Regions from separate parts of the Homo sapiens genome. Here all the other regions are linked to region 1. The links are contacts of gene promoters, found by promoter capture Hi-C in blood cells and fetal thymus (Javierre and others, 2016). All regions are on one chromosome and are shown on one strand. Each heading gives the region's core, a stretch centred on a gene start or on the middle of the fragment in contact. The rest is flanking DNA. Distances are from core to core; before and after follow the strand shown.

The links. The method cuts DNA at HindIII sites, captures the fragments that hold promoters and counts their contacts. A CHiCAGO score of 5 or more calls a contact.
Region 2: a contact is called between a fragment that was not itself captured here and the fragment with the promoter of SRP19 in region 1, in 2 of 17 cell types (fetal thymus and activated CD4 T cells). The highest score is 6.8, in fetal thymus.
Region 3: a contact is called between a fragment that was not itself captured here and the fragment with the promoter of SRP19 in region 1, in 1 of 17 cell types (fetal thymus). The highest score is 6.5, in fetal thymus.
Region 4: a contact is called between a fragment that was not itself captured here and the fragment with the promoter of SRP19 in region 1, in 1 of 17 cell types (naive CD8 T cells). The highest score is 5.1, in naive CD8 T cells.
Region 5: a contact is called between a fragment that was not itself captured here and the fragment with the promoter of SRP19 in region 1, in 2 of 17 cell types (M0 macrophages and monocytes). The highest score is 7.1, in M0 macrophages.
Region 6: a contact is called between a fragment that was not itself captured here and the fragment with the promoter of SRP19 in region 1, in 6 of 17 cell types (naive B cells, total B cells, monocytes and 3 more). The highest score is 9.4, in naive B cells.
Region 7: a contact is called between a fragment that was not itself captured here and the fragment with the promoter of SRP19 in region 1, in 7 of 17 cell types (total B cells, naive B cells, fetal thymus and 4 more). The highest score is 8.6, in total B cells.

Annotation. Positions count from the first base shown.
Region 1 is chr5:112,858,964-112,862,630 of GRCh38, reverse strand. It overlaps SRP19 (signal recognition particle 19), which reads right to left and starts at 1,344. Exons shown (of 5, transcript NM_003135.3): 1 at 1,214-1,344; 2 at 48-123. The coding sequence starts at 1,254. RefSeq lists enhancers at 1,047-1,346, 1,447-1,526, 1,285-1,579. The HindIII fragment of the contact is 2,166 bases long and covers 1-1,495 here.
Region 2 is chr5:111,237,287-111,240,835 of GRCh38, reverse strand. The region is part of intron 1 of CAMK4 (calcium/calmodulin dependent protein kinase IV); the gene reads right to left. Among named protein-coding and RNA genes, the nearest start is that of CAMK4, 15 kb to the right of the region's middle. RefSeq lists a silencer at 3,073-3,172. The HindIII fragment of the contact is 2,198 bases long and covers 942-3,139 here.
Region 3 is chr5:111,216,935-111,220,403 of GRCh38, reverse strand. No RefSeq gene overlaps it. Among named protein-coding and RNA genes, the nearest start is that of CAMK4, 5.7 kb to the left of the region's middle. The HindIII fragment of the contact is 869 bases long and covers 1,538-2,406 here.
Region 4 is chr5:111,192,495-111,196,155 of GRCh38, reverse strand. It overlaps the pseudogene RPS3AP21. Among named protein-coding and RNA genes, the nearest start is that of CAMK4, 30 kb to the left of the region's middle. The HindIII fragment of the contact is 4,835 bases long and covers 1-3,661 here.
Region 5 is chr5:111,131,460-111,134,999 of GRCh38, reverse strand. No RefSeq gene overlaps it. Among named protein-coding and RNA genes, the nearest start is that of WDR36, 41 kb to the right of the region's middle. The HindIII fragment of the contact is 2,276 bases long and covers 370-2,645 here.
Region 6 is chr5:111,099,337-111,102,862 of GRCh38, reverse strand. WDR36 (WD repeat domain 36) reads right to left here. Exons shown (of 23, transcript NM_139281.3): 5 at 2,142-2,274; 6 at 464-518. Among named protein-coding and RNA genes, the nearest start is that of WDR36, 8.8 kb to the right of the region's middle. The HindIII fragment of the contact is 7,608 bases long and covers 1-3,526 here.
Region 7 is chr5:111,506,771-111,510,294 of GRCh38, reverse strand. It overlaps STARD4 (StAR related lipid transfer domain containing 4), which reads left to right. Exons shown (of 6, transcript NM_139164.3): 2 at 2,853-2,966. The coding sequence starts at 2,862. Among named protein-coding and RNA genes, the nearest start is that of STARD4-AS1, 3.7 kb to the left of the region's middle. RefSeq lists an enhancer at 992-1,111. The HindIII fragment of the contact is 2,144 bases long and covers 319-2,462 here.

The sequences.
Region 1 (3,667 bases), core at 95-2,594:
ACACCCCCCATTCCCTCGAGGATCAAGGTGCCAGCCATCTTGCTTACCTTACTTATGGGGATTCGCCTTCCCTCTGCGATGGTCTTCTTATTATTTAAATAAGCAGGATAGATACAAATAAACCTGCCATAGACAATAGCATAAGTGGTATCACTAGAGCAGTAAGAGGCAGGAGAAAAGGGTCGGGTGGCAGGGAACCAAAGGCCAATTCATGCTGCCTAGATATCAGATGGGTACTCCCTTTTCAACCCCTCCTTTTTCTGCGTGGCAGTTGAAAAATCAAAGTACCTCGGAGTGGTCCCCTCGAGCAACTAATCAGACTGGCCGCGGGCCTACTCCTCTTTCTGATTGATCCCCCTCCCTCAACCAATCAGACTGGCACAGGTCAATGGGAAACGTCTAGAGGGTATTTAAACCCTAGAAAATTCTGTAACCAACAGCTCTTGGGTAGCTTGCTGGAGCCGGCTCCCACCCTGTGGAGTGTACTTTTGTTTAAAATAAATCTGCTTTCGCTGCCTTGCTTTGTGTGTTTTGTTCAATTCCTTATTCAAAACGCCAAGAACCTGGACAACTACACTCAACAGATAACAAGTATTTTCAAAAATACATTCTTTCGGTCCGTGGTAGTCGTCATCATTGCTGGTACACCTATGCTATTATTTGCTTAATGTTATTTCTTTAAATTACCTCACTTTAACTTATTTAAAAATAAACTTTATCCACTACCTTGGATGGAAAAAAACCACAGGAATAGAAACAAAACGACTTGGGTAACTGTTACATTAGACAGAGCAGCCCGTCAAAAGTTCCTGAGAATGGGCCCGCCCTCTTATATAAAGTGTCCGAGGTATTAAAAACCTTAAAATTTCACAAATGAGCCTTTCTGAACGCAACAATACTTAAAAAGAACACATTTCTCACACTGTGATTATATTACTTGATATCATGTCCACGTAGCACCCAAAATCCTTGTCTCGCGTACAGATAAACACTAGGCTACCTATGGTCGGAATTTCAGGAGCCCTGAGAAGAGCCTGGTGGCTGCTGCAGGATTCAGAAAAACGAGCTGCCAGGGAGAGGCGCGGGGCCCGTACAGAGCGAGTTGGATCAGCTAGGCCATTCTGGAGGCCGCGGAGCGGAGAAGCGCGGTGTAGCACCTGCAGCACCACAGCAAGCCCCTTCCTTTCGGAGGACCCACCGCCTCAGAACCCACCTGTCCTGGTCGGCCGGGGACCGCGCGGCAGCGCAAGCCATCTTCACAAGAGTCTCAACAACCCAGGAGCCGCAGGGAGAAACCCGGCAGAAACCCGGGAGGAACCCGGCTCTGAGTTTCCGAGACAGCCCGCTTTTCCGCCGGAAGTCCTGCCCAAGAAATGGTTCCGCGTCCGCGATTTCTCATCGCCTGTTTGTTCCGGCACCTGTCGCTCGGCGCCAGGATCTCTAGTCTCTGACGTGGCATGAAGACTTCCCTTCTCGCGAGAGAATCATGAAAGCTTCTCATTCCTTTCCCAAGCCGGGAAGACCATGTGGGGCGCATGCACCGCCACTAAAAAGGGTTTAACTTCGACCCTCCCTCGTTTCCAGTTTCTCAGCGAGTATGGGTGGTACTAGCTACTCTCTGTTAAGGGGCGAAGACTGTGCCACGAGGGGAATCTGTGTGGTTCAGGATGCAAATATATGTTAGACAGGGAAGGAAATACTCCTTACGTTTAATTTTTCTCCGTTCCTGGGCTCTAGAGCTTGCTTTCAGTTTGGCAAAATGGATTTTTGTAGTGGTAGAACTAGCAAAGTTATAGACGTTGTGTTTCAGTGTGCTCTGCGTTAGAAACTTAGCTATTCACCTTTTAGGCCGGGTGCGGTGGCTCACGCCTGTATCCCAGCACTTTGGGAGACTGAGGCAGGTGGATCATGAGGTCAGGAGTTGGAGAGCAGCCTGGCCAACATGCTGAAACCCCGTCTGTACTAAAAATACAAAAATTAGCCGAGTGTGGTGGCACACGCCTGTAATCCCAGCTACTCGGAGGCTGAGACAGGAGAATCACTTGAACCCAGGAGGTGGAGGTTGCAGTGAGCTGAGATCACACCACTGCACTCCAGCCTGCGTAACAGAGCAAGACTCCGTCTAGGAAAAACGAAACAAAACTATTCACCTTTTAAAACTTCTGAAGGATACCATGTGCCATCACTACAGGCATACTTCATTATTGCACTTCACTTGCTGCTGCGAGTAGATACTGCCTTTTTACAAATGGAAGGTTTTTGGCAAATCCGCCTGAAAGAAGTTGCTTGGTGCCATTTTTCCAGCAGCGTATACTTTGTGTCACATTTGGTAATTTTTGCAATATTTCAAACCTTTTCATTATTTCTGTTATGGTGATCGGTGATCAGTGATGTTTGCTGTTACTATTGTAATAGTTTTAAGGCCGGGTGCGGTGGCTCACGCCTGTAATCCCAGCACTTTGGGAGGCCGAGGCAGGTGGATCACGAGGTCAGGAGATAGACACCATCTTGGCCAACATGGTGAAACCCCATCTCTACTAAAATATAAAAAATAAGCCAGGCATGGTGGCACAGGCCTTTAGTCCCAGCTACTCGGGAGGCAGGGGAATCTCTTGAACCCAGGAGGTGGAGGTTGCAGTGAGCCAAGATCACACCACTGCACTCCAGCCTGGCGACAGTGCAAGACTCCGTCTCAAATAATAATAATGTTTTGGGGCACCATGAACCATGCCCAGATAAGATGGGGAACTTAATGGATAAATGTTGTGTATGTTTTAACTGTTCGACCAACTGGCCATTTCCCATCTCTCTCCCTCTTCTGGAGTCCCTATTCCCTGAAACACAACAATGTTGAAATTAGGCCAGTTAGTAACCCTACAATGGCCTCTAAGTATTCAAGTGAAAGGAAGAGTCACACGTCTCACATGTCAAAAGATGGAAATGATTAAGCTTAGTGAGGAAGGCATATGTAAGCCAAGATAGGCTGAAAGCTAGGCCTCTTGGCACCTAACAGCCAAGTTGTAAATACAAAGACAAAATTCTTGAAGGAATTAAAAGGAAATTACTTCAATAAACACACAAATGATCAGAAAGCAAAACAACCTTATTGCTGATATGGAGAAAGTTTTAGGGGTTTGGATAGAAGCTCAAACCAGTCACAACATTCCTTTAACCCAAAGCCTAATCCGAGCAAGGCCCTAACTCCCTTCAATTCTGTGAAGGCTGAGAAAGGTGAGGAAGCTTCAGAAGTGGGAAGCTAGTAGAGGGTGGTTCAGGAGGTTTAAGAAAGAATCCATCTCCATAACATATAACATAAAAGTGCAAGGTGAAGCAGCAAGTGCTGATAGAGAAGCTGCAGCAAGTTATCCAGAAAATGTAGCTAATATCATTGACGATGATCAATGATTAGCTAGTATCATTTAGTGGCTACACTAAACAACAGATTTTTCAATGTAGACAAAACAGTCTTCTATTGGAAAAAGATACCATCTAGGATGTAGCACCCAAAATCCTTGTCCCTTTGAGAGAAGTCAATGTCTGGCTTCAGAGCTGCCCCATTTAGTGGCTACACTAAACAACAGGTTTTTCAATGTAGACAAAACAGCCTTCTATTGGAAAAAGATGCCATCTAGGATGTAGCACCCAAAATCCTTGTCTCTTTGAGAGA
Region 2 (3,549 bases), core at 791-3,290, 1.6 Mb after region 1:
AGCCCTGCTTTTGACTCTTAGCATTGCCCTATAGCCAAAACATTTCTGAAATCTCAGAATCAGAGAACAACTTGAAAGGCTGTGATATCCAATCATTTGTAATCCCTCCTCCTTTACCGAGAGGCCTTCCAGAATGAATGACCCTTACCTAAATGACACTCAAGTAAGGTGTCTCCTAGGTCATCTAATTTCTATCCCCCCACTTTTTTCCTTAGTTATGAGTATCTCATTAACAGCTTTCTTCAAGGTTATTAATTTGTTTTCTTAAGTACTGCAATGAAGTTCCTTCGCCAGAAGAGAGGGTAGGACAATTAAAAGCAGCTATAAAAGAAATGTAAGATGAAACTGGAAATCAAACTTTCTTTTACAACTTAGGTATCACGTTAGAGAAATACATTTTTTAGGTATGGCTAATAGTAACATCATTTAAATATAAGTCTCTTCCATGTGATGTATTGTTTTATCAGCGTGCACAAACTAATAGACTGCTTTCAAATATTCCTTACTACTTATGGGTTTTTTTTTTTTTAGATTGTTAAATGATTTCCAGAACTCTATTTCTAAATCACAGGTAAGTTGCAGTGATTCTGGGTTTGGTTATTTAACTTCCCGGTGAAGAATGCAACATTTAGAATGAAAAATTAATCTATGAAGAAGAGGTAAAGTTAGTGTAAATAAGACCTCAAAGCAACAAAAAGATTAATATTTTCTAACACCCTTTTAGAAGAAAAAAAACTAAAAATTATACAGAAAGAACCACATGCAGCAGTTATTTTAAACTACCCCAACTTTCCTTTTGTCTGCAGATGTGGAAAATCTTACGGTTATACTACACCTTCTTTTCAATACATGAAATATCAAAAAACAGTAGTCAAATATTTACAAATATTGCACCATGTACTACCCCTGGGTAAAGGGGAAGCTTAGATGCTCAGAAAGCTTACTCAGAAGCTGCAAGCAGTAGCAGAGAATTACTAAGGCCTCCTGCCAACGCATTTCCAGAATTTTAGAATCTTATGACATTTTTGAGAAAGTGTGCTATCCAATCACCTAGAATCCCTCCACCTTTACAGACAGCTATTCCAGAATTAATATCGATAATATCTAATGCTTACTGGACACTTACCGTGTATAATGAATGCACTGACCTCATTTAATCATTATTATCTCTTCTTATGGGTGGAGAAGCTGAGGCTCAATGAAAATTTGTCTAAAATGACACACTTCATGAGTGGCCGAACTGGGACTCTATTGCAGGTCTTTCTAACTCCAAAACTTGTCCTTTTCATTTATCTTAATATTTAACAATCCCTGCAAATAAAAATCTCCCTTCTTGGATAACCTCATGTTCATGCAAAGACATGCAGTAAAGGTCCCCATTTCAGTGTTGTGTGTTAGCTATTCATTAACCTGAGAAACATGAATCTTATTCTCGGGAATTTATAATTTAAGATAGAAAACTGACAATAACAGCCAGAGAAAGCAACCTAGTGCTAAAGAAACACTGACAAGGTTAAAAAAAATCCAATAAAACCAAGCAAAACACAAGTAAAACAGACCTCGAATTAATCGTAAGCATCATAGGTTTTTCAAGGTTTGAGAATATATTCAGAATAAGGTGAAAACACGGTCAAAGACCCAGAGGAATACTGGGTTCCTAGTCCTGAGAGAGGTCCCCAAAGTGATCGTGTGAGCTGTGCCAGAATACAGATCCAAGTCCTGATGAAAACATATGATACTCAAGATGCGCCAAGTTTTATTTTTTAATAGCTGAGCTTCTAGTTGGCAACAAAAAATCCCGTGCCAGCTGCTGAGGAAATAATGTACCAGGAGCTGGCAGGCATTGACACTTGGAAAGCCAACAGGTACGGATGCACAGTGGGATCCAAGGTGCTAGTGCCTGGAAGGCACGAGTGGAAGTGGGGATGTAGCCACAGAAGAATTGTCCCAGTCTAGGGTCTGGCAAGGTGGAGGCATGCTAGGGAGCCCACCTCCTGTTAAAAAAAAAAAAAAAAAAAAAAAAAAAAGAAGAGCCTCTGAGAGTCAGCTTTAGCCATCCTAGATAAAACAAGTAAGGAGCTTTACTCCTTGTGAAGTGGGGTTCTGGCCTCCTTTACCCAGTATCTGGGAGGAAATGTCAGGCATCTGAGAAAGAAGAGCAGATCACTCCTCAAACTGCGACGTCAGACAGGTGCCAAATGGGGGAAAAGGGTACAGGGCTGTCTTTCTCTGCTCTGGCTGGTAACAAAGTGCCACAGACTGGGGTGGCTTAACTTAAAAAAAAAAAACATTTTTTTCACAGTTCTGAGGGCTGGAAGTCTGCAATCGGGTGCCAGTGTGGTCGGGTTCTGATGAGAACTCTCTTCCAGGCTTGCAGACTTCTTGCTGTGTCCTCCATGGTCAGTGATGAGAGACAGCGAGCGAGCAAGCTCTCACAACTCTTTTAATAAGAGCACTAATGCCTCATCACCTCACCTAAACCTAATTTTCTGCCGAAGGCACATCTCCAAACCCCATCGTATTGGGAGTTAGGGTCTCAATACATGCCTTTGGAGGAATAAACATTCATTCCATAAGATGGGCAGATACAAGGAAATGACTGGTACCTAGGCTCTGGAGAGATGAAGGAAACAGGGAGAAATCAGGAGGGGACGGAGAAGTGCTCTGGGCCTAGGGGTAACTGGACTCAGAAAACAAGAAGTAAAGCTGGTAAGGAGTGGCCTCCCTTCTGCCCCTCAGCCCTGTGTCTGCCTCTCTGCTTCCCACCCACAGTTTCCTTTCACCACGCTCCCCTGGCCTCTGGTTGTCAAAAGAAAGATGGGAAGGTACACATTTCCAGAATAATTACTTTGACAGTGCATAAACATCAGGAATGTAAAGTTAATAACCCTACTTGGAAGTTATGTCAAGCTGCATTTCTTTTTGATCGATGATTAAGCATTTCAGTAGATGGCTTTTAAATAATATCCCCAAATATAGATAGACATGGAACAGACTATTTATGCTCTTATCTCCTTCAAGACCCTCTCCTTAGGTCTTCCTTCCCCTCCTATGGTCAAGTCAGGGGATATGTTACCCAACCATGTGACAGGACATTGCTAACTGGTTACATAGCCACAAATAGGTCATAAGTCAAGCTTTTTAAAAAGAATGATTCTTTTCTAAAAGCAAAACTAGAGGGGTAGAGGAAGCCAGGAAACATACTTTCTTCTAAATCTTGTCCTAGATATCTACAACTAGTGCTAGCATTTGTATAGTCTACAGCAGGAAGTACAAATGAGTGAATGTAACAATAGGTACATTTTTTAAAGGTGATGCATTTAGAAAGCACAAAATGAGAATAAAATTTATGTGAGGATCCTCCAACACACTTAGAAAGCCTTTCAGGCTTAGAGCCCTACTTACTTCAAAAGCTGCTCTGTCTCCTAAACAACATAAAGAACTAAGGTGATCGCCCAGAGAATTCAACTGGAAGAAAACGCAGGTGCACACATGGTTGGGACTAGAAGGGATCTTAGAGGTAGATAATCTCCTCACAGAAGGTGACAG
Region 3 (3,469 bases), core at 723-3,222, 1.6 Mb after region 1:
AAACAAACAGTAACAGAGGAGTTAATAAATCAGAAACCTAGATTTGCAATGGGAAAAGCCAATAAGAAGAAATCTAATCCCTACTATAAAATCAAGACATGTTCAGAAGTTAGAGTACCAGATAGTTCTCAAGGTGAGGCATAGAACAGAGAACAAAACATTGGTTAAAAAATTTTATAAAAAGTTATTAGGCCCCTTCATCCAAATTAGAAAGGAAGAAGTCAAATTGTCCTTGCTTGCAGATGATGTGATCTTATATTTAAAAAAGCCTAAAGACTCCACCAAAAAAAAAAAAAAAAAAAAAACTATTAGAATTGATCAGTCCAGTAAAGTTGCAGGATACAAAATCAACATATGAAAACAGTAGCATTTCTGAAATAGAAAATGAAAAAGTAATCCCATTTACAATAGCTACAAATAAAACAAAATATCTACGGATAAACTTAACCAAAGAAGTGAAAGATGTCTACAATGAAAACCGTAAAACATTCATGAAAGAAATGGAAGAGGACACAAAAAAATGCAAAGATATTTTATGTTTATGGATTGGAAGAAACAATATTTTTAAAATGCCCACACCACCCGAAGCAATCTACACATTCAATGCAATGTCTATCAAAATGCCAATGACATTCTTCACAGAAATAGGAAAAATAATGCTAAAATTTATGTAAAACCACAAAAGAAGCCAAATAGACAAAGCAATCCTGAGGGGAGGCCAGGGCAGGGGGAAGCTGGAGGTGTCATATTACCTGGTTTCAAATTATAATACAAAGGTAAAGTAACCAAAAGAGCATGATACTGGCATCAAAACGAATATATAGGCCAGTAGGACAGAAGAAAGCACCGAGAAATAAATTCATGCATTTACAGTCAAATCATTTTTGAGAAAGGCACCCAGAACATACATTAGGGAAAGGACAGTCTCTTCAATAAATAGTGCTTGGAAAACTGGATGTCCATTTGCAGAAGACTGAATCTAGACCCTCTCTCTCACGATACAAAAATCAAGTCAAAGTGGATTAAATACTTCAATCTAATACCTGAAACTATGAAACTACTAGAAGAGAATATTGGGGAAACACTCCATTTCATAGGTCTGGGAAAGATTTCTTGAGTAAGGTCTCAAAAGAACAGGCAACCAAAGCAAAATGGACAAATTGAATCACATCGAGCTAAAGTTTCTGCACACAGCAAAGGAAACAATCAAAAAAACTGAAGAGACAACCCACAGAATGGGAGAAAATATTTGCGAACTATCCATCTGACAAGGGTTTAATAACCAGAATATATAAGAAACTCAAACAACTCTACAGGAAAAAAAATCAGATTGAAAAATGGGCAAAAGATCTCAACAGACATTTCTCAAAAGAAACATACAAATAGCCAACAACTATATAAAGAAATTTCTATTCATCAAAGAAATGCAAATCAAAACAAGGAAATATCTCACCCCTGTCTTTCTGATAAATGACTTTTATCAGAAAATCACCTTAGAGTGAAACCTACCATTAAACAGGCTCAGTGACCCAAAGCTTCTAATGAGATACAATCTTTCTAATAAATGACTTTTATCAGAAAGACAGGCAATAATGAATGTTGGTGAGAATGTGGAGAAAAGGGAACCCTCGTACACTGTTGGTGGGAATATAAATTAGTACAGTCACTGTGAAGAACAGAATGGAGGTTCCTCAAAACAATAAATAAATTAAAAATAGAACTAACATGTGGTCCACAATCCCACTGCTAAGTATATATCCAAAAGAAAGGAAATCAGTATATCAAAGATACATCTGCACTCTCATATTTATAGCAGCCATGATAAAGAATCAACCTGAGTATCCATCAGTGGATGAATGGATAAAGAAAATGTAGTATGTATACACAAGGAAATATTATTCAGCCATAAAAAGAATGAAATCTTGTCATTTGCAACAACACAGATGAAACTGGAGGACATTAAGTGAAATAAGCCAGGCACAGAAAGACAAATATTGCATGTTCTCACTCATATGTGGAAGCTAAGAAAAATATTGAACTCTTAGAGATAGAGAGTAGAATGATGGCTATCAGAGGACGGGAAGGGTAATAGCAAGGAGGGGATAAATAGGGGATAGTTAATGAGCACAAAAATACAGTTAGATACAGGGAATAAGATCTAATGTTCAGTAGCATAATAGGGCAACTATAGTTAACAGTAACTTATTACATATTTCAATATAACTAAGAGTGGAATTGGAATGTTTCTAACAACAAGGAAGTGATAAATGCTTGAAGGGATGGATATTCCAGTTACCCTGATTTGATCACTGCACACTGTATGTTTGTATAAAAATATCACATGTATCCCATAAATAAGTGCAAATATTATGTATTCATAACAAATTCTTTTTTTAAATTAAAGCTTTTAGGCTTCCTGGATTACCTCTTCTAACAATTCACAGCCAAAAAACACTCCTACCAAAGCCTAGAAGAAGATAATATATTTAATTTTGTAAATGTTGAACAAGGAACGAAATATGTTTTAGGTCAGAAGATACAGCTGAGGCCATATTGAAAAGAGAGATTAAGTGAAACTCTGCACGATAAGTAGCGAGACCCCTGAGGGCACACGCTCCCAGAATGTTGAGAAATAGGTTTATGTCTATTTTGCCCCTAGCCATACAACTATTGGTGGATTTTTCACTGAACAAAATAAATAACCCAAGGAGGGTTATATATATAACACAAAATACTACAAATAATTCCCTCTATATGATATTCAAGGAAAGGCAAAACTGAAGTGACAGAATGCAGATCAGTAGTTCTCCAGGGCTAAAGTGGGAGGGAATCAAATGCAAAAGACTCTAAGGGATTTGGGGAGTGATGGAAAGGTTTTATATCATGGTTATGGTGGTGATTACAGGATTTTATTCATTTGTCAAAACTCTGAATTATACTTTTTAAATTGATAAATTTTATTGTACCTAAGTTACATCTTAATAAAAACAATTAAAATTAAAGGCACAGCCAGTGCTCTAACTTAGGTAAAATTAGAAGTTATTAATATTGGAAAGAAAGAAGTTAAATTGTTGTCATGTACCGATGACTTGACTATTATATAGAAAATTCTAAAAGTTGGTTTAGACTACTACAATTGATCAGTGAATTTGTCAAGGTCACAATATACAAGGTCAATATAAAACAATCACAATATAAAACAAATACTAATAGGAAATGATAGGAAAATTCACTAATACCATTTCATTTACAATAGAATAAAAAGCATAAAATACTTAGGAATCAATTCAACAGAAGATGTCCAAATCATCTACAGTTAAAATTACCAGATATTGCTAAGTGAAATTTTTGCAAATCAAAACTACAAAGAGAAATAATCTCATACCAGTCAGAATGACAATTACTAAAAAGTCAAAAAATAACAGATGCTGGTGAAGCCGCAGAGAAAAGGGAACACTTATACATTGTT
Region 4 (3,661 bases), core at 650-3,149, 1.7 Mb after region 1:
AATTCAGCAAACATCTAGGAATACATTTATTAGATAGTAGGAAGAATTTCTATGCTCAAAACTATAAAATATAATCCTAGCACTTTGGGAGGCTGAGGCAGGAGGATCACTTGAGTCCAGGATTTCAAGACCAGCCTGGACAACATGGCAAGGCCTCATCTCTACAAAAATAATTTTAAAAAATTAGCTGGGCATGGTGGTATGCACCTGTGGTCCCAGCTACTTGGGAAGCTGAGGTAGAAGATTTCTTGAACCCAGGAGGTCAAGGCTGCAGTCAGCCATATTCACAGCCTGGGCAACAGAGCAAGACCCTGTCTCAAAAAGAAAAAAGAAATGCATGACAAGAGTAATAAACCATGCATATGGATTGGAAAACTCCATGGTGAAAAGATGTTGATGTCAATTCTTCTTAAATTAGTATATACATTTAGTTCTGTCCCAGTCAAAATATTAGGAAGTATTTTATTTATTTATTTTCAAAAAAAAAAAAACCTGACAAGCTGGTTTCAAAATTCACATAGAGGTACAAAGAGCTAAATACAGTCACAGCAATTTTAAAGAATGAAACTAGAGATATTACAAAACCAGATATTAATATCTATTAAAAGGTATATTACTTAAGACAAAAGTAGTATTGGCACACAGATTAGCAAATTGACCAGTGGAATATAATGGACATTGCAAAAAATCATACTTACTCTCTGGCAAAGATGACACTGAAGTGTTTTCCATAAAAATAATTTAGTCAATTGGATATTCATATTAAAAGTGATATATCTTGACCTGTACCTCACACCATACACAGGAATCACTTTCAGATGAATTGCAAATTTAAAAGTAAAAGGTAACAAAAGAAAGCCTGTAGACAAAAACATGGAAGAATATCTTCAAGTCTGTGAAGTAAGCAAATATTTATTAAACTGGGACAAAAAGTCAAAGGAAGAAATAGATACATTGGATTATATTAAAAATATATCACGTTTGTGCATACTACAAAAAAACAGGTCATAGATTGGGGATGACTCATATCTGGTAATATATACAACTCCTACCAACCAGTAAGAAAAATGCAGCCAGCCGAAGAGAAATATAGATAAAAGACAAACAGATACTTTCTGAAAGAGGATATTCAAATAATCAATAAACATATAAAATGGGCTCCACTTCAGTAACAATCAGGGTAATGCAAATTTAAATTTAAACCATAATGCAACACCACTATACATCCACCAAATTGGCTAAAATGAAAAAGAGAGAAAATAGCAAATTTCAATGAGGATGTGAAAGCACATCCTCAGAAGATTGTAAAGAAACGATTAGACTTAAAATATTTTGTTTTGTATTGATAGGAGGTAGGTAGAATTATTGATTAATTTGAAACTTAAAAAAACAAATATATTACAAATATATATCTGAAATATTAAAATATTAAAAGAATAAAAATAGAATACACAACATTCACATCTCTAGAGGAGGAAAAAGTAAAATAATGAAAACTAAATTATGCTAATATGAGGCAATTAATAAAAAGAAAAGCCATGGTAAATAGAAAACATAAGCTAAAAGATGTAAGTATTAATAAATCTGAACTTCCAATAAAATTGCATAGTCTTTTTTCGTTTTCCCAGAAAAAATAAGGTAATATTTGGCATCTGCCTTTCAAAAATAGGAAATGATGTTAGGAAACTAATCTTGTAAGCCAGGCTGCTGCCTTAAGGAAAAATCTTCTTACTCCTTTCTCCTTTAGTATTGTTAATGGATGAGATGCAAGTTTCGAAAATCCCATGCCTTTTTACTTCCTGAGGAGAGAAAAAGAAGGAAAAGATAAAGGGAGGAAAGAGAGTGGTTTTAGCAGGTCTCTGTTCTATCTAGTATTGCCTCTGGGAGGGGGAAGGAGCATGAAAGAAGTGGGGTCAGAGGAATGATCTCACCTACTTGGTGGGTTGATGGCTTCAGCAAAAAGCCAACTAGCAGATTCTGGCTGGATTGTCTTGGAGGTGCAGGAGGAAGGCAAGAGTAGTAAAAGTTTAAAGTGAGATTTAAAGTATATATTTTCCAGATATCTATTTTAACATTTAAACTATTGCTTATAGTCTTAAATAATAATATTAATTTTAATTTTTTTCTTTTACATCCTGATTCCTTTGCTCAGCTCTATAGAAGTAAAAATGTAAGTTACTTATTTTAAAATATCTGTTCCCCAGTTTTTAAAATGTTTTACAATTTGCTTTTAAGTAAATTCAACAAAAATCTTTCATAGAGGATCACTATGTTGGTCTATATTCTAGCCTGCCCTCTTCTACATACTCTGCTCCAGATCATAGTATAAATAAAAGTTCATGCAATGAAATTAAATCCCAGGAAAAAAAAAGGGAAAGAGGATGCCATCAAACATTTTTATTATGTCTCTTAATTCTGGTACTTTTTTGTATTGGTAGGAGGTGGGTAAGATTATTGGAATGATAATTGACACCATCTCATAAGAACTGTGACATCATTCCCATAATTTATGTAAGTCAAATATATCAAAAGCCTATTCAAATGAACAAAAACTATAAAATAAATGAGAAAAGCACTTTAGAATGCTCTTCCTCTCTGTCAAATGAAAGAATAAATACTGTATTTAGATCTAATGAATTTATAGTTGAACATTATTCATTTTCATTAATACCTATTATTTGTTGTTATTAGGAAGGCTAAATTTTCCTATAATTAATAAATGACAGTAAGTTTTATTTTATATGGATTTTTTTTATCTCTTCAATAAGGAGGCCATTTTGTTTTGGTTTGACAAATATATATCTTTTTATAAGTAACATCCTTCTCATGAAGTAGACTTGACAAATTTTTTGTGTGTCATCTCATTGTATTTTATTCATGATAAAATAACATTTCATAAAAATATAGGAAAACTAAAATCACCTATAATTCAACTATCTAAATATAATTATGCTTAGTTTGTTTAACAGTCTTTTACATATACATAAAATTTTTTAATAAAAGTGAGATTTTCTTGCACATTTGAAACCTCACTTTTTTAACCTCATACCTTTTGAATATCTCCTCATCAATAAATAAAAATATATCACCTTTTTGGCTCTCTGACCAGCACCATGGCAGTTGGCAAGAACAAGTGCCTTACGAAAGGCGGCAAAAAGGGAGCCAAGAAGAAAGTGGTTGATCAATTTTCTAAGAAAGATTGGTATGATGTGAAAGCATCTGCTATGTTCAGTATAAGAAATATTGGAAAGACGCTCGTCACCAGGACCCAAGGAACCAAAATTGCATCTGATGGTCTCAAGGGTCGTGTGTTTGAAGTGAGTCTTGCTGATTTGCAGAATGATGAAGTTGCATTTAGAAAATTCAAGCTGATTACTGAAGATGTTCAGGGCAAAAACTGCCTGAGCAACTTCCATGGCATGGATCTTACCCGTGATAAAATGTGTTCCATGGTCAAAAAATGGCAGACAATGATTGAAGCTCATGTTGATGTCAGGACTACCGATGGTTACTTGCTTCATCTGTTCTGTGTTGGTTTTACTAAAAAACGCAACAATCAGATACGGAAGACCTCTTATGCTCAGCACCAACAGGTCCGCCAAATCCGGAAGAAGATGATGGAAATCATGACCCCAGAGGTGCAGACAAATGACTTGAAAGA
Region 5 (3,540 bases), core at 258-2,757, 1.7 Mb after region 1:
AAAAAAAACCAGTTTTTTTTCCTCCTTAATTGTTTTACTTCTTCATATGCACTGCTTTTCTAAGTTACCAAGCCCTTTGTTAAAACAAGAATGGTAGTGAAGCAGCATGCAGGCATTTTTTTTTTCATATGGAGGCTATTTGGGAATTCCTGTACACACACACAAACACGTGCACACACGTGTGCGTGCACACACACACACACACCCACGTATGCCACATTTTGAAATAAAGGGAGAAACTCCTGGCAGTCACTCTTTGCAGAGTGTGAAGGCCTAGAAACATCTTCTTCTTTATCTTGATTCTAAAAGAGAGCAAGTCAAAAGGCTAAGCAAAAGAATATAAAAGAATAATGAGCTAAAATACAAGCTTCATAGGACCGGGATTTTTATATGTTTTGTTTTCTAAAGTATCTCAAGAGCATAGAACAGCATCTGAGACAGGGTCAGAGCTAAGTATTTGTTGAAGATAGAATGAATAAATCAATGATTGAAGGAAGGAAAGAGGAGTGATCACAGCGCTGTGAGCTGGGTGGGGAGGCTGTCGGGTATGTGACTCCTTTGTTTGGTATATGATGCTTCTTGTAAACTAAATCCACATGGTTAAGTGAGTCCAGGCTTCGATAACTCACTCTCACCCACCATTCAGTCACCCAATGGGCTTGCATCATATTTACTCTAGAGAATAGAGTGTGGCCAGGAGTGAGGAAACAGGGCCAGAGTTATGAGGCAGACATCATACTTGGAAAGTTCAAATGAGAAAAAATAAATTAATAGTAAAGACTGGAATTTAGCCAGAGATAGTGGGGGAAAAAAAGGGCAGCCAAACAAAACAAAACAAAACAGAACAAAACCCCCGGCTTTGAAATATCCATTCTTGGCTGTGGTAGCAATAAACAATATTGCTAAAAATTGTTTGCAAGGATTTATGGAATTTTTGTGTTTTCAGAGGACATTAAACTATTGTTATCTACATGTCTGCAGTGTCAATAAATCACTAACAACACAGAGATAAAACTAAGTATTGAATATTTTACGTACCTTTTCAGAGACATTTAGTAGATTCAGCTGGAAATGGAAATTAGCATGGTTGGAATTGGGAAATTCAGCATATAGTACACAGATACTGAAAGAAAGATCCCTAAAGAATATTTTATATATCAAAATGATTAAATTTCATCTTGAGCCCTCATATTACTAGATTTAGGGTAGGGAACAAAATTACCAATTAAAAAGTATCTCAGTCTCTTTCACATTAGCCTAGTCTCTTTTGGATAAATATTTTGTGAGATTTTATGTTCAAATTCCCTACCATGTCTGTTTCTTTCCTCACAAAGGAAGGTTCACTATGTGTGAGTGCCTTCTGTGTTGCCAGACCCTCTTCTCACCTCCCCCGACCAGGACCACAGTCCCACTTAGCCTGTGCCCTGAGTCTCTGCCTATCTTCCAGCTGGGCCCTGGGCCAGGATGGTGTGTCCACACTCTGCCACTGGGGCTCTATGGCAGGCCTGTTGGCATTCTACTCCCAGCTGCCTCCCTCATTCCCCTCAGGGAGCAGGTGGAAACCTCCAGATCCCTCCCAGTGTCACCCACAGTCATGGAAACTCTGTGAGCTGTCACAGTCATTTCTTGCCACCTAAGTTAAGTCACACCCCTTGACTATGGCCACCATGTGTCAGGATAGAGGGCTTGTGAGCCAGTCTCCTCCAGGGGAGTCAGGACCTAGCCCCACAACTCTGGAGTTCCACTTAATGTACCCAGTGATTTCTCCAACTAACCCTCCATCCCCACTTCCCCTTTTACTTCTAGATCTGGGGCCAGGGCCTACAAAATCTTTAACCCTTTTGCTCACTTTCCTTCCTTCAGGTTTCTTCCTAGAACCAAGTGGGAACATAGGTGAGAACCTTATGCCTCATAGCCTTCTTTTTTCCCTTCTCCAGTTCTAAGTTCAGTTATATTAAGTCACCAAAACGGAGATTTGTTAAAATACATATTGCTGGCCCCTACCCACAGAGTTTTTATTTCAGTAGTTATGCAGTGGGGCCTGCAGTTCTAAGTTCCCAGGTGATGTTGATATTGCTAATTGGGGAAACACACTTTGAGAACTACTGACCTATACTGTGACCTTCTCTAATATCACTGCTCCCTTTCCCTTGCAATAAGTCCCATGGCTTAGCCTTAATGGGGGAAGGACTGCAAGGTATATGCCTTATATTGTATTAAATTTATATCTGAATCAGTGAGATTACTCTTGGAAACAATTTTGGCTTGAGACTTTCAGGATCTCAAACTATTAACAGCAGAAAACAAGAGAGTCTGCAGAGCTTAAATAAGGCTAATAATGACCAAAAATGTGTAAGAATAATTCTTTAAAGGGTGATGTGGTCTTCTTCCTTTGCCTTTCCAAACGTATCACCTTTTCTGAGATTTGACGCAACTGTCATATTAGAAGGGGACTACCATTTTGTTTTGCAGGGCTGTAAGGTGAAATACTATGCGAATACTCATAATCTACCATTCAAAAATGGGATTTTTCAGTGAGATGATAGCTTTCCATCCTCTGAAAATGTAATCTTCCCTTTAGCATAACAGAGTTATAAGAAACATGAAGACAGGAAGGTGGGGGTGTGTGGGGGTGGGGCGAAGCTTTTTTGTCCCTGGAGGATGGTGAAAAGATTACAAAAAGAAAACAGAAGGATTCCTCTTCCTTCAGAGGAAGAAAGGGAAGTGTCATAAGTGAGGGGGAAGACTTAGGACCCAGAAGGGAGGGTTTTTAGTCTCCAGTGTGCAATCTTGGACTTTAGGAAGAGGCTGCACATCAAGTGGATTGTTGACTGCCTTTGGCAGGCACTAGTTGCAGAAGAAATACACAATCAAAGGAATGCAGCACTCTGCAAAGAAAAGCAGAATTCAAAGAGTATTTCTTGAATTTCTCAGTGTCACAGATCACAAAAAAATTCCGGAAAACAAAGATATTATTAGATAATCCAGTATTCCTGAATTCTTAAATTTCCATTCCTGTTTAAACATAACATTTCTGTAATTTGCAGTCAAGAGTCCTAAATAATGTTAGAAAGTATAATTTAAAAAATATTAACATTGGCCTTGCAGGCAGAGACATTAGTAAAATCTTGTTTCAGTGACCTGGCTCTCTCTGGGCACTTTGATTGGACTATATAATGCTAATTTAGCTTGTCAGAAGACAAAATTACAACATATTTAGTTATAAATTTAATTGCCTTTTATCCACCATTCATCAGGGAAGCCCTTCATTCTATAAAGTAGAATGAGAAATCCCACTGGACAATAGCAGAACAAGGGGTTTTTTAAGGTGGGAAACAGAAAAATAGAGAAAAAAGGTTAACATCGGGTTACTTTTTTGTAAGGATTAAAGTAGAGGGGACTTCCTTATTGTGCTGACTCAGGTAGACTGAAATCTGTTTTCAAAGGAAACAATGGTCTGCTTTGGAATTTATCTGCTTCCTTGAAGTTTCAGTTTGATTATGTGGCATTTAGTATGAGCAGCTCCATTAGTTTGTTCTG
Region 6 (3,526 bases), core at 1,005-3,504, 1.8 Mb after region 1:
TTGCAGATTCATTAAAAAAAAGCAGTTATTTCTTAAATAGTCCATCATCGAATCAAACATTAGGATTTTGGCTCCAATTACTTCAAACCATAAATCTCAACATCTTGACAAATTTCTCTACATGACTTACAATACCGCTTGCATTGCTGAACACTCATTTCCAGTCTACACAAGACAATGGACTACATATACTTGCAAAATGATTAGAAACAAGGATCCATAGCAACCACAGATTTAAGTCAAACTATAAGCACAAAGGACTCCAATAAGTGTTATTGGCAAAGGCATTATTACTTGTTTTAACTTACATTTCCAAAACACTATTTCCTCAGGCTAACAATTTTAAAGGTAAACTAAGCTATATATTGTTTCGTCTTTACGTCTAAAATTATGATTGATTCCTGAAACTGAAGGATTTTCCTATTAACTTTGTTCCTCTTTGACTTAACAGAAAAATACTAACCTGCTGAAGAGCTGTCACTCCAACTTTCCATCCTGGAAATGTATATAGAAGTTTACTACAAGAAGAAAAATAGTTGAAAGCTGTATTTTTTTTTTTTTGGAGGAAAACAATATCAGCTACACATTAAAAAGTGAAATAATAATAGGTGATATTTATTAAGTTCTTACTCTTCCACACACTATTCTGATGATTAAGCTAATGTCACAAGGTTAGTAATATTGTCCAGACAAATTCTAGGTCTCAAACTAACTACTATGCTATGCCACCTCATTAAGAAATTAAATGTCCTAAGTGGAAAAAAAAATACGTGTGTAAAAATCATGTTATATTACAGGCTACAGTAAAAAAAATTTAGGACTGCAGTATCTTTATAGAAACATCATGAAAGGGAATAACTTATATTTTAATAAAAATATTATTTGCATGTTATATGACTGTTATATGACAACAGTAATGCTGCTCTCAATTTCAGAAGCAAGTCATGAATGATAAATAACACATCCATGGAGCAAACAGAGGTATCTGAAATCATTATAATTATCATTAAAATATTAAATCATGTATTAAATTCTGTAAATGGGCAAAGACAGTATTTCAGTCACTATTGCTGAACCTAGCACAAAGTAGGCAGTCAATGGTATTTGTTAAATTGTAATGAAACACTGATTTAAAACATCAAACCTTTAATAATCTTATTTTCCCTTTTGAATTTAAAAGGACTTTGGAAAAAAACAATTTGGATGGTCAAATATTTTTGTTTGCTTTTTAAAATGCTATACAAAGAAGTGTGAGCTGCCACCTTTTTCTACTGATAAATGTTTACATAATGGATAGAAGTATTCAAAATCATGTATCCAGCCCTCTAGCTACATCAATATTAGATATTTGCCATATCTATGGGAGATTATGGAAGTACTTTTAACCCTAAAAATCATTTCTAAATGCTAGCACTAAATTATTGATTTGCCTTTCCATCTTTTACCTTCTTCATGTATAGAAAATCTTCATGTATGGAAAATCAGAAGCTCCCTAGTAATAATCTCATTATTATTATTTTCTGATGGATCTCATAGACCTTTATTAGAGCCTTCTCTATAGCAATTCTTTACAGTTATTAGGTCATTAGTACATACTTTTCAGTGAGCATTTATGAAGCTGTCTAACATGTGTCAGGATCACATGCCACCTTTCACATATGTGATGCCACCAGCAACAACTCCAAAAGCAAACATATAGTTATATCTCACTACCTGTGGGGGATTGGTTCCAGGACTTCCCCAACTTCTCTGCTGATACCAAAATTCACAGATGCTCAAGTCCCTTACATAAAATGGTGTGGTATTTGCATATAACTTTCACACATTTATGCATATACTTTAAATAATCTCTAGCTTACTTATAAGACCTAATATAATGTAAATACTATGTAAATAGCTGTTATACTGTACTACTTTAAAATGTGATGTTTTATTGTTGTATTATTATTTATTTATTTTTCCTTGAATATTTTTGATCCCAGGTTAATTGACTCCTCTGATACAGGGGACCAACTGTTATTTATAGACAACCCTCCAAATAAATATACAAGGGCAGGGAGAAATGAGACTTAAGTATACATTAGGAAGTAGTAGATGAGGATAAGGTGACAGCTATATTATTTTCTAACTAAAATACTTACTTGGATTTTACATTCCACAACTGCAGGCTTCCTTGTTCACTGCCCAGAAGTATTTTATTCAAGTAGGTACTTGGATGCAAAATTGCAGAAATTTTAAATACTGATTTATCAAAAGTCAACTGCAGGTATTCTTCTACAAAAGTGAAAGTTATAAATATTTTTTATAAAATAGTTTAAAATGTTTTATGTAACCATATATTTATCACTTAAAGTAAGTCTATCACATCAAAGATTTATATGTTAAAATAAACCACAGACTTAGATACTAATCTATAAACATTCCTTGAGAAATAAAATAAATGAGAGGCAACTTGTAAATGTAATTTAATTTAGACTGTCAAAAATTTTCTGTAACTTCTAATAAAAATACTATTAAAAGTTTCATTCACTTTTGAATTACTTTACAGAAAAGGATAATAAAGTTAAAAAAAAAAGATCCTAAGGATTAGCATTCATGTTTCTGTAATTTGATCAACAGACAGGAGTGAATATTCCAAGTGAAGTGCTTATACTTAGCTCTTTCAGGGAACGAAGAGCCAATTATCTGGAAAGTTTGATGGGCCACTCAAAAAATGCCAAAAATAAAAGACACACCTCAGTGAAATAAGAGTACTTCTCACACATTTCCACAAAATAATCTCTAATAAAGGAGAAAAAAAAAACGTATAACCCTGTGGAGTGGGGGGTGGCATCACCAGTGGTCACTTGCTCCAAGATAAAAAAATTCTCTGAAATCTTTGGTTACATTCAAAATTTCTATGTTTGAATTCTGCTTTTCACTTTACAGTTCCTCCATGATTAAAACAATGTTCCACTCTATTTTCCAGTAAATTTGTGTATCAAAGAAGGTACATTTCACTTAATCTTTAGGTTCACATACTATCTGGCACACTACTGTACAATCCCAGGGTATGGGTACCACAGTTTAGGATGTACAGGTATAGGTGAAAATTATATAAACTTTACTTTGAATGCTATTTTAAGAGATCCTTGCCTTTATTCGTCAGTCACTACAAATGGCTCCCTGAATATACTGGTTCAAGAGAGTCTGCTGGAATGTAAGAACCAGATCCTGTAACCTAATAAAAGCCCTTTTAACTTCTATCTGCACAGGGAATACTTTTGGAATTCTGTTCCCTCCCTCTACTTGAGCAAAAACAAAACAAGAAAAGGGTTACTAATCTGAAACAAGAACCTGGAATAATTCCCAGAAATGCAATCTTCAGGATATTTACTGAAAAAAAAAAAAAAAAAAAAACAAAAAAAAAAACAAAAAAAAACCAAGAGGCAATATAAGCTAAAAATGTAACCAGATTAAAGAACTTAAAAGATTCAATTCATGATGAACCCAGTATTTTATTGAGGAAAGGTGTAGATATCCTAGG
Region 7 (3,524 bases), core at 141-2,640, 1.4 Mb after region 1:
TAACCCATCTCCCCCAACCCTCTTGGTTCTAGAATATATTAATATTTTGAGAAATGCTCAATTATGCCTGTTTACACAGAGGTAGCAGTTTTGATGGCAATGATTATTTCATTATGGACTTAATCTTGATGAAAATAATCCATGCAAGACTTAACTGTTTGGTTAAATACATTGCTGGACATATTTAATCAGAGAGAGCTTTCTGATTTTGTACTTCTTTCTCTTCCTTTCCTACCTCCCACTGCACCACTCTTAAAAAGGCTATTAATAGAATTTTTTAATGTTTTAGTTTTTGTTGTTGTTATTTCTGTTAAAGCTTAAGGGTGGAATAAGTCAATTTGAGAGTAAAATCTGAATTCCATCTGTTTCTGTAGTTCTAGGACCTGGTATATAATAGATGCTTGATAAATATTTAATAGTAGTCCTTCTTGAGAAATGGTGTTTCATTATGGTAAAGGAAGTTTTAGTTATTCAGAAGCTCTAGGATTGGCGTAAATGGGCATACTTTAGATATCTTGAGGTCTTCCATAAGTGAGAATGGTAGCTTATTGTCTATACATTTTTCCATTTTTTATTCACTGTGTTCCTACTGAGTGCTAGACGTAAGGAGAATTAATATTGAACAAGCCAGATTTCCTACCCCCCAAAGATTTTACAGTTAAACGGGAGAAGATAACAAGTGAATAATTACAGTACAGAGTTGCTGTCAGAAAATATTGGAGGGGGAACTAACCCAGGTTCAGGGGAATCCAGGAAAGATAAGTGGAAATTAGGTAATGAAAATATGCCACATTATAAAAGGGCCTGTAAGCTATAGTAAGGAGCTTGAACTTTATACTGATCAGTATGAATTACTAAGTCAAGTACCTTAAAGTTGCAGATTCTCATCTCTTCTAGGTAGCTAGCTTTCTAGGTAACTTTCCGTGCACTGGATTTGCCCAGTGATAATGTTTGCTTATGATAATAATAACTTTCTGTTTCACCTTTGATTTCTATCAAAAAGTTTTGCATAAATACTCTTATCTGCCAACCACAGGAACCTAGCAGGTGACCTTTGGGTTTAAAGAATATGTTTAATCATAGTGATCCCTGTAATAGATAAATTAAATCTCTTTTACAAGCCTTCTGCAAGAACTTCTGCTTGTTTGTGGCATACTCTTGAATAAAGTTATTGAACTGGCTATCAAGTTGACAGCCTCTTGAATGGAAATTAGGTATATTCTTGACTGAGAGACTTTTTGAATGAGCTCATCAACTTTTCATCCGTGGATTGGATCTATACTTATTATATATTTTGCATCACTTACATAGATCCTAAAAGTTATATTGAATTTTCTTTGTATACTTTCCCATGTTTCTACATAATTTTAGTATTTATAAATTTTAATGGCTTATATGCTCTAATTAGTGGTATTTAAATATTGGCTACAACCTTAATTTATTTCTGTCACTTTAATTTTTAGATCAGTTAGTTCTGATCTCTGGCTAGACAACAGAATAATTAGTGAGACTATTTTAAAGGACCTACATTTCTGAGGCCCATTCCAGAACAAAGCCACTGAATTAGACTATTTGGCACTGGGCCCTAAAATCTAACACCTAAAAGCAGCGACAACTAGTACAAAGCATAAAAAGGTGATTCTGATGTGTGCATCCATAGTTGACAACTGCAGCCTTATTCCCATAGAGGGTGATTTCATTTAGATTAGGAGATTTCATTTAGATGTTTTCTTGACCTCCTTTCCAGCAATTTGATGGTTCTGTAATGGGCAACTTTACCCCTAAAACTCTTTTCTTCTTTAGCCTTTTACTGAAGATGGGAGGAATAGAGATAGAATAGTGAAAAGTAGGAATTATGCTAAGAAATTGGTGCCCTGGCACCAAAAGAAGACAAAGACCAAGTAATTCTTGTTTTGAGACAATAACATATCAACAAAATAAGGGCCTACTATGTGCCAGGCAGTGTTCTAGGTGGTGGAGTTATAGTGGTGAATAAGAAAAGGACCTCTATGCTATTAGTTAGGAATGAGGTGGTCAAAGAGTAGAATCATACACCTATAAATAAGTTATTATATTGTCAGATAATGATAAGCACTATGAAGAAAATAACGATGTAATAGTAACTTAAGAAGGCTTTATGAAGGATAGGAGGTTTAAACTGAAATTGGCATTACATTGTTATTAGTGATGCTAAGATTTGGGATCTAGCCGTATCAAAGACCACAAGTCAGCGATAAGCTAGCCTGTTTGAGGGACAGAAAGAAAACCAGTGTAGAATACTGTAGACAATGAGGTATGATGGTGTTAAAAGGAACCTATTCTTATTAAGGGCAATTCCAAGCCTTTTGACTTGAGAACTTGGGCTCAATTGCCATTTTAATAGTAAATTGTTAAAATGAGGAATACTGTGACAAATTGAGGGAAGCCAGGGGAGGCAAGAGATTCCCTTTAGGCTTGAAGCTTTAAGTAGGCTTCTGGATCTGGGATTTTTGAGCTCATTGAAACAAAGAGGACTGGAGGTAAATGTTTGAGAGTTAACAGCATATCTATATATGAGATACAATTGCTTCCCCTTCCTCCTGTCTTCTCTTCTACTTTCTGTATGAGTGATTTTAATTGTAAAAAATATGTAATTCTCACCTCTGGCTATGGGTTATTCATCTTGGGAGCAATTAGAAAAAAACTATGCCCGGGTCCTACTCTCAGAGATTATGATTAGTTGATTTGGGGTGAGGGTAGCTATCTTTTATAGCTCTGGTAGGTTATTATATTGTGAAACCAGATTCGAGACCCACTGGCCTATTGCCTCAAACTGTGGTATTTGCTGATGCTAATCTTGGTCTCCATAACAGAGAGAAGTAATGGAAGGCCTGTCTGATGTTGCTTCTTTTGCAACTAAACTTAAAAACACTCTCATCCAGTACCATAGCATTGAAGAAGATAAGTGGCGAGTTGCTAAGAAAACGGTAAATTAGTTCAATTACTTATATTTGGGGTATATCTTCTATCTAATGAATTGGTTGATGACTTTTAAAATTAAATGGAACAATATGGACAAAGACCATACTTTGGATGGATATGCAAGAAAAATAATTGAGCTAATAAAGTTGATAGTCTAATGTCACACAGAGGAAGAAATGCATCAGTGGTAATCCTATACTGCTTTCATTAGCTCTTTGGATATTAGACAAGAGAATAGGCTCATGGCAACTAGAACCTAAAGAATGGCCTCTTAAGTCAGCAAATAAAATGTATCATTATTAATTTAAGAAAGTGTAGTACTTGAGAGTTTGGAATAGTTTCAGGTATATCAAAAAGCCTATGAAGGTAGCTAGTTAGTATTCCTTTTTACTAATGTGACTTGCCCAAACTATTACATAGGTGACTTGAGTGTTGCTAGAACTAATTCTAGAACCCAGGACACTTCTAGTTAAGTGCTCTAGCTATTCTGATATTCAGAATTACTTGGGAAATGATGAGGAAAAAATGTAGGGACAAATTCATGTTAACACTGTCGTAATAAA